Linked DNA regions of Homo sapiens: region 2 is linked to region 1. The links are contacts of gene promoters, found by promoter capture Hi-C in human tissues and cell types (Jung and others, 2019). All regions are on one chromosome and are shown on one strand. Each heading gives the region's core, a stretch centred on a gene start or on the middle of the fragment in contact. The rest is flanking DNA. Distances are from core to core; before and after follow the strand shown.

The links. Contacts are between HindIII fragments. The study calls those that stand out against the background at their distance.
Region 2: a fragment that was not itself captured here is called in contact with the fragment with the promoter of SLC24A3 in region 1 in 2 of the 25 tissues and cell types used here (H1 embryonic stem cells and dorsolateral prefrontal cortex).

Annotation. Positions count from the first base shown.
Region 1 is chr20:19,210,865-19,214,877 of GRCh38, reverse strand. It overlaps SLC24A3 (solute carrier family 24 member 3), which reads right to left and starts at 2,236. Exons shown (of 17, transcript NM_020689.4): 1 at 1,894-2,236. The coding sequence starts at 2,035. LOC101929547 (a long non-coding RNA gene) reads left to right here and starts at 2,410. Exons shown (of 3, transcript XR_007067549.1): 1 at 2,410-3,249. RefSeq lists a silencer at 1,836-1,885. The HindIII fragment of the contact is 12,474 bases long and covers 1-4,013 here.
Region 2 is chr20:19,371,345-19,375,380 of GRCh38, reverse strand. All of the region lies in intron 2 of SLC24A3 (solute carrier family 24 member 3), which reads right to left. Among named protein-coding and RNA genes, the nearest start is that of SLC24A3-AS1, 89 kb to the right of the region's middle. The HindIII fragment of the contact is 3,946 bases long and covers 288-4,036 here.

The DNA of each region.
Region 1 (4,013 bases), core at 987-3,486:
AAGAGGAAGTGAGAGGAAAAAAGAATATGAAAGGTAGGAAGGAGAAAGGTAGGACAGAGGGAGGGATGCGGAAAAGGCCGTGCTATGGAACTAAATCTGAGTCAGTGGCACCTGAATAGAAATGTCACTACCAGGGAAACCATTCCAAAATGACATTCCAGTCCCCAGGTTTCAAGTTTGCAGAGTGTCTGGCCTCCTCTCCTCCCAAATCCCAGCTTTTCAGGGCCCAGGCAGCCCCCTGTCACTGATTGACTTAACTATATGAGTCACATCCTTCACCCAGAAAAAAATGTCTTTTATATTCTTGAAAGTGGTGGGAACTCTATGTCTCATAGAGCCCCAACATACCAGAAAAAAATGGCCAGCGTGTAATCCACTAGGAATAGCCCTTTCCAAAGGTGGCATGAACTATAAACTGGTTTTTCACTGGAGAAAAATAAAAAAGGAAAATAAAAATGGGATTCGGGAAAACCCCCTTAGTGAGACTGTCAGTAGACAGAAGTCTGGCAGATGTGAATCTGCCCTGGGAGAGATTCTGCTTCCCTCACACCGGCACGGCCCCCTTCCTGATGTCAGAACCCAAGGCTACGGGATCTGAGATCCAGGAGAGCAATGGAGAGAGCCGTGGAGTCTTGAACAGCTTCACTGAAGACCAAGACGGACTCTCTGCTATTACCATAAATGATGAAGTCTGTCAAGCGGTCTGCTAAGACTGAATGAAGACTGACGCCTGTTTCACTTCCCCACCAAGCAGGAGACCAGCCAAGCTGGGGGAGATCCCTTTTTAAATTCATGGCACCTTTGAAAATATTTTACGGTGACTATCAAAATGTCTTTATTCTGCACCTCATGACATCTTGCATTAGAGCTACGTCGACCTCAACACCACAGCACATACTTGTAACTGTTTTTTTGTTTGTTTGTTTTGTTTTGTTTTGTTTCTTTCTCACAACCCTTTACATGGCTGTTTTCCCACTAATCGTGCCACTTCCACGGCCGGGATATAAAACCATTTTACAACAGTTATTCTCCCATGTTTTTCCTTCATTTTATAGACAGCTGAATCCCAGGATCGAAGCTGTTTCAGCAGACAACTGTTGGGAGCACACAAGATCTATTTCAGCTCAAGAAAGGCCAAGGACAAAGACAAGACAAAAGTTGTGGGTTAAAGGGCAGACTTTGCGCAGAGCACCGGTAGAGGAGCGGACAGTGTGATGCGTGGTCCACTGCAAACCATTTCTTCCACAGCAGCAGCTCTGCAAAAGGGACCTCTGAGGAAGAATTCCCTGTCTTCCCAGTGAGTGGTCATTTTAGGAGAACAAGTCCCCTACTAGCCCATAGCTGGAGGGCCAACACTTTTTCTCTCCCTGAAGTTCCCGGCACCTGTTCTGAAAGGGGGTTGAAGAGCTCTCTACTCGGGCCATCCCGCCTGCTCTCTGGATGGAGAACATACGGACAACTGTGTGTTAAGCAGTCCCCTTGAATCCTTCAGCAAGCCAAGGAGTATACAGGTGGTCACCTGCACAGGTGCCGGGTCTACCACCACAACTTTATCCCTGGCCTTGGGGGCTGATGGAGAGTAAGACTCCCCACCACCGCCACCAGCAGTACCTCCAGCTCGCGAGTAAGCAGCGCACAGGCGGGCACAGGTAAATGTTCCCAGGGCGGCCAGACGCCTAAGCCTGCTGGCTGCTGGCGCTCAGGGTCCCCACCTCCATGCCTCTGCGTGGGGCAGGGGGAGTCCTCGTGCCTGGCATCCCACTCCCCCCGCCAACCCAGCCCGCTTATCCTGGGGCTCCGGCCGGGCCGCCCGAAGGAGCCCCGCGCCCAGCCCCGGGAGCCCCGAGCCGCCGGAGCCGCAGCGCCCACTCGGGGCAGGCAGCGTGCACTCACCCTTCTGCTCTCGCAGGCTCGACAGCGACCAGAGCAGCAGCGCCACCGAGGCCAGGAAGCAGAGCTGGCTCAGCAGAAGGTCCCTCCGGCGGCGGCGGCGGCGGCGGCGACGCGCGCGGTCCTCGTCGCCGGACGGCCGCATCCTCGGGCGGCCGGGCGGCGGCCTCGGCGGGCGGCGGCCGCTCCTGTCGCGGGCGGCCGCGGCGGGGACAGCGGCAGGAGGCAGCCCTGCGCGCAGCAGCCGCGCGTCCTCGCTGCGCTCCCACCCGGCCGCCGCCTCCGCCTCCTCTTCCTCCTCCTCGCCGCTGCCCGTCTCCTCGTCGTCGCCCTCCTCGTCGCTATCGCCCAGTCCCTCCTCCCCTCCCTCCTCCTCCTCCTCGCCGCTCGCCCGCGCCGCCGCCTCCCGGCGCTCGGGGTCCCGCTCCTCCTCGCGCGCCATGGCTCCCACGCTCCGCGCCCGCGCTCGGCCTGGGGCGGCGGCGCGGCGGGGGCGGCGGGGGCGGCCGGGAGGCGGGGGCGGAGGGGGCAGAGGAGGAGGAGCGGGGAAGGACCGACGGTAGGAGGGCCCGCCGCTGGCCAACTCCGCCGGTTGGCAAAGCCACCCCGGACTGGCTCTGGCCTCGCCGGCTGCAGGAGCGCCTCGCGGGGCCGCCCGCCTATTCCATGGTCGGCGCGATGGGGGCCGGGGCCGGGCCGGAGCGAACAGGGAGCACCGAGCGAGCTGGGAGCATGAGCTAGCGCAGCTCCCGGCAGCCTGCAGCGGCGAGGCTGGTCGGGCCAGGGTTGGCGGGGGGCAGTGCCTGGGACACAGCCCGGCGCTGGCCGGCATGGCGGGGAGGGGGCGCGCTGGGAGGAGACTGGGCTGGGGAGGGATCCCTGTGTGCAGTCCTTCAACCCTTCTGTGCCAGGGGAAGAGGGACGGCGCAGGGGGCCCCCTCTCGGGAAGCACACACGCTGCCTCCCAGAGGCCGATCTTCACCAAGAAGGATTCGCTGGAAACTTTCGGAAAACCGAGGGGCTCTTCAGCCTCCTCTCTACGTGCTACCTGGAGTCGGGGCGCCGCGAGTGCGCTTGGCTGCCCGCGCCCAGCCTCTGGCCTCGCCTCTTCTCGCGGGCCTCCCGGGTTTCCCTCTGCCCCCTTGCGGGGATCCCCCTGTGCGCCCGACTCGGGATCTGGAACAGGCCTCCCCAGAGGCTGTTAGTTCCATAAGGGTGTCCGGCTCCCCCCTCTGTCTTGGGCTCACACTTCGCTTTCTGTTCGTGCTGGACCAAGTCCAATACTGTGGCTGATCGAAGTGGGGACAGCTGGCACGGTCCCTGGAGAGGCGGCCTGAAGAGGCTTCTGGCCTTGTGCAGGTAACACCAGCCTGCCCTACCTCCAACGTTAGAATCTTAGTCCTCCCATTTCCCCCATTCTAGGTCTCCTGCCCCTCCTTGCTGAAGGTGTGGGCTGCCCTAGAGATGGCTGGACTCACGACCTGCCGCAGGTGCCCATTTGGAGGGGATCCCTGGCCATCCCAGACACAGCCCACTCTCCCTCATTGGGCTTCCCTGGACTCTTCCCAGATGCTAGCCTGGGGCTGCTGGCTGGGCTGAGGAGGAGATGCCATTGTTGGGGCGGAGGGTGGGGGGGCGCTGAAAACAAAAGACCTTGTCCAGAAAGGGATCACCTGAAACCAGGTGTCTGTCTAGGTGACTGTCTCCATGGAATCCATTCAGATCAGGGAATCTAGCTTCATACCCTAAGGAGGTGGGAAGGAAGCAGAGAACCTCTGTATAAGGCTCCCCTGTCTAGGTCTGTTCAAATGTGTCCCCACCTGTGACTGACCTACCCCCCCCGACCTCCTCCCAGACAATCCCTGACAGCGCCCGGGGACAGCAAGGTCACAGCAAAGGGCAAAGGAAGTGGTTATAGGTGGCCTCCTTTCCAGAGAAAGGCCATCTCACCCAGGGAGACCAGAGACTTTTCCTTTGTGGGTATATCATTTATGACTGCTGTTCTCAGCCTGGCATCTTCCAGACACTCAGAGTACCTCCCCCACAATGCCTGAGTGGTTTTCCCTTTGCTTTGGCTGCAGATACTAAGGAGGGTGTAAAAATACGAGTTCATCCGTGCTGGA
Region 2 (4,036 bases), core at 1,011-3,510, 160 kb before region 1:
GCCAGTGAGTTTTCTTTCTCCCAGAGTAAAAGAAAGAAATAAAAACCATCAACTTTAACTACACTCTATGCACCACAGCATTGAGACAGGGTGTTCTGAGCATCGGGACATAGCCTGCCTTCTCCCTAAGGAGCCTGGCGAACTTTTACGCCCAGAGAGAAGATGAGAAAAGCCAGGATTTGGTGCCCAGGAATCTGGGGTATAGTGTAGGTTCTCCCAGAAGCAAACCCTGAGGCAAGGATTTCAGTACAGGTGATTGATCTGTGAGGTGAAGCAGGGCCAGCTGGGGAGTGAGGAGGTGATACTGGGAAGAGACACCAGCCAATGAGGCATGAGTGGTTGCATCAGTTATCCCTGGGTGTACCTGGGGCTTCCTACTAGCAGAAACTCTGGGAAAAATAAAAACACAGACTCAGTGTTACCTTGCCCAAGGGGTAAGGGAGCTGGGGTATTTATACACCAACTCCCATCATCGGCTATGGGTGGCTCCAGAAAGCATTCATTCCTCTGACTTCTGGTCTACCATAAAGGCTGGCAAGCTACACTTAGGAGGCCAGAGAGAGGCCTTTGACAAAAGAATGCAGATGCCCTGATAAGAATGGGTGAAGAATATGATCAGGGCCATGAGAGCCTATGAATCCATGTTCTGCTGCTGATCAGAGCTGTGATTCAGACATATCCTTTAACTTCTCTGACCCATACCTGAGCTTCACATTGAGAAAAGAGTGCCTTCATGCCTACCCCACAGGCTTGGGGTGAGAATCAAGTCAGGTAATGCTGTGAAAGGACAGTGCATATTACAAAGGGCTGTTAAACCATAAACTCACAGGGAAGGGTGGGAGCCCACCAGTGCCCAGAACTCCAGGAGAGATAGAAAAGGTGTGCAGGCTTAGTCTCCCCATGTCTTATAATTGAGCAGCAAAGGGGAGGCTCATTCAACAGTCAGTATTCTGCTCATCTGAGCACTTAGCGGGCAGGCTGCCTAATTTTCAGGGGCACAAATCCAGCCTGCTTCACCGGTGTCCCAGCTCAGGGAAAACATTTGTCATTTTAACAGGGTTATGGTTACTCATGCAAGACCAGAAAGAAATGGCAACTTGAGCATGTGGAGGAGTGACGGCCCACCCTGTCACTGAGATGGTGGTGATATTTGAGTTATATCTAAGGGTCAGGTAAGCAGAGGAACTGGGAAACTTTCCCATTTTTGAAACATGATGGAAATTCCTTGCTTTGCCCTTAGACCACAGGATAAACCATTCCTCTATGCTTCCCCGATCTGAGGCTCTTTCTTTACCGGATCTCAAGCAAAGGCATTTGGCATTCAAGTACCTATGCTACGTTACAAAATGATGCTGTGAAAAATGGACATTAGTGGCCAAGTGACAACTACTTGGATAAGGAATCCTTCATCCAGTTATTCAACCCATTCAAGGAAAACCTGAAAGAAGCTGTGATTAACCTACCAGGGATCTAGGGTTCGTAGATAGACACACACTCCTCCCTGCCCACCCTGCTCCCACCGCTGATCTCAGCTTCATTTCGTTTTGGCTTAAAAACATGTCATGCTCTTAGTAGATGCCTCCAAATTCAGAAGCCCACCCACTCCAGGAAAATGATGGATAGCAGCAGCTGAAGCTCCTCCTCCACTAAATTTCTCCCCTCACCTACATCAGTCTGGACAAAATCTCCGTAACTTAGGATCCAGGAACTAAGAATCTATAGGGTGGGCTAGACTGTCCTCAAAATATGTGCAAAATCTAAGTCAGAATATATAAATCTATATATATAGTGGCAAAATCTATAGCCACTATAATTAGATCCTCCATGGGCTCAGTGTCCCTCAAGAGTTAGGAATCATCCCAGACAAAAACATCCTTGAAAAAGGCATGGAGATGGCAAGGATCTGCCTGCTGAGTGCTCAGGCAGCATGTGGGCAGCTCTGACCTCCAAAAGGTAGAGAAAAGGGTTCTCGAATGTTCCACCAGGTCTCCCTGACCATAAGAACTTCCCACCCTGACGTCAGACCATTCCAAGGCTCTGCCTTTGCAGAGGAGGTGACCATGGGGCTGGACCTGGGCAGGACAAGGAAGGGCCTCCGAGAGAGGCCTTGATTTCCCCTGGGGTCTGCTGAAGGAAAATTTAGGTTGCAGAAATCGGATCATCTCTCAGGAACTAAACACCAGCAACAAACAAAAACCAGACCTAAAAGCTTCGGTGTGAATAGACAAAGTGAGACAGGCACAGGATCCCACCTGCAAGCCCCTGGACAGAGGACATTGCCAGGATCTCTCCTTAATAAAAATGGGCCAAAAAAAAAAATCGCAAAACTAAAGAATTTCTTTCTTTCTTTATTTCTCTTTTGGTAACTAAGTTAGGCATGAGTCTTTCTGTGCAATTCATTTCACTTTTGGTCCCATCCAGCCCTGGGGCCACCACAGGAAACTGTGGATCAGAAGAACTTTCCATTAGACAGGTCCATATATTTGCCTTCTGATGCCACCTGATTAAATCTGTAATTCTGGCCGCCACAGAGAAGGATGAAATGTGCTGGTTGTACCGGTGTCCTTTGCTCAGTGGTGCTGAGCTCGGGGAGGGAAAGCCGGGCATTTTCCTGTGTTTTCTGTTTTTCCCTGGGGACCCTTTCCTCCCGCTCCATCACTCTTCATAACTAAGGTGACCAGCAGGGCTTGGCCAAAGGAATCCCAGTTTTCTCACTCCAGCAGGATTTGATTCTTAGTAAACACATAGGAAGCTTCTCCAAGGTTTGGTTAGTCTGTTTGTTGATTTGTTCCTTTTTCTGTTTCACCATTTTCATAGGAAGCAATTGAACGACACACTGAGCCTGCTCCCAGATAGTGCTAATAAGGTCAAGGTCACAGCCTTTATTCCCGCATGAACCATTTTCTCCTGTTTTTCAATTTGCTCTTTGTCCTGCAAGAGCATCCCTTACCCTCAGAAAGTGGGTGTGGCTGAGCCAGATGCTAAGTGAGAGCATCAGTGAGCTGTGGATGTTCCTGTCTTTCTTGTGTACCTCATGAGGCTTCACTTGTCTTGAAATGATTCCTTTATGGTCTCTTTATATTCATTCCTGCCTTCCCTCAACTTCTGCTTCTTTCCCTGAGTTAGAAGATTCCAAACAAATACAGATATAGCACATGAGGAATTCTGGACCAAAGGTATGGAAGCTAAAGCAACTCCATCTTGGATGAAAATCCACCATGTTGACTTCTAAGCAACCACAGTTCTAAGGTTTCCAGTTTATTTACTGTTCCTTGTGTAAGAGCATGTCCTTACCATAAATCCTGCCCTTAAGCAATTGTCCTACACATCCCTTCCAAGGCATGTATACTTTTTCTCTATGATATAGAAGCCCTGGGTCTGGTCTGGGGATGATGGCATAGGGATTTACCATCTTGCCTCACTGCTGCCTGAGACACAGACATGACTTCCACAGAGAAGTCTGAGGAAGCTGATGGGCTGAAGAAAAGGCTGGCATACCCACCTGAGATATGGATCCATATCCGTATGCCAGCCTTTTTACATAGCTTATCAGCTTCCTCAGACTCTGGGGTAGGTTTGAATAGACCTGTACGCTGCAGAATACAGGGAGTCTAAGGACTTTCCTCAGCTTCACATGGCCAGGTGGTCCAGATATGAGATTAGAACTGGGTCTGGGGTCCCACCCCAAAAAAGGTAGGGAAATATACCACTAAAAAACATGGACAGCCAAAAGCTTTCCGCCATATGGAGAGTGTGGGGATTTTGTCCCTGTATGTAGGGGGTGGTGGGGTTTATTACCAATGGTAGGAACCTGGGGGACCCAAATCCCTTTTTCAGGAACTAGCTAGAAAACTAACTGCGTATTCCCAGCCACTGGTTCCCAGGCAGTGTGATCCTAGTCCAAGGCCAGGCTTGGGGTCTTGTCCATAATGCTTTGCTCATTTCCTTCTCAGTGCTCCCAGCTGTTCCACACCACAGGGCCTACACCTAAACAGTGGCAGAGCAGACTGCTCGGTGATCCCCAGACCTCCTGGGC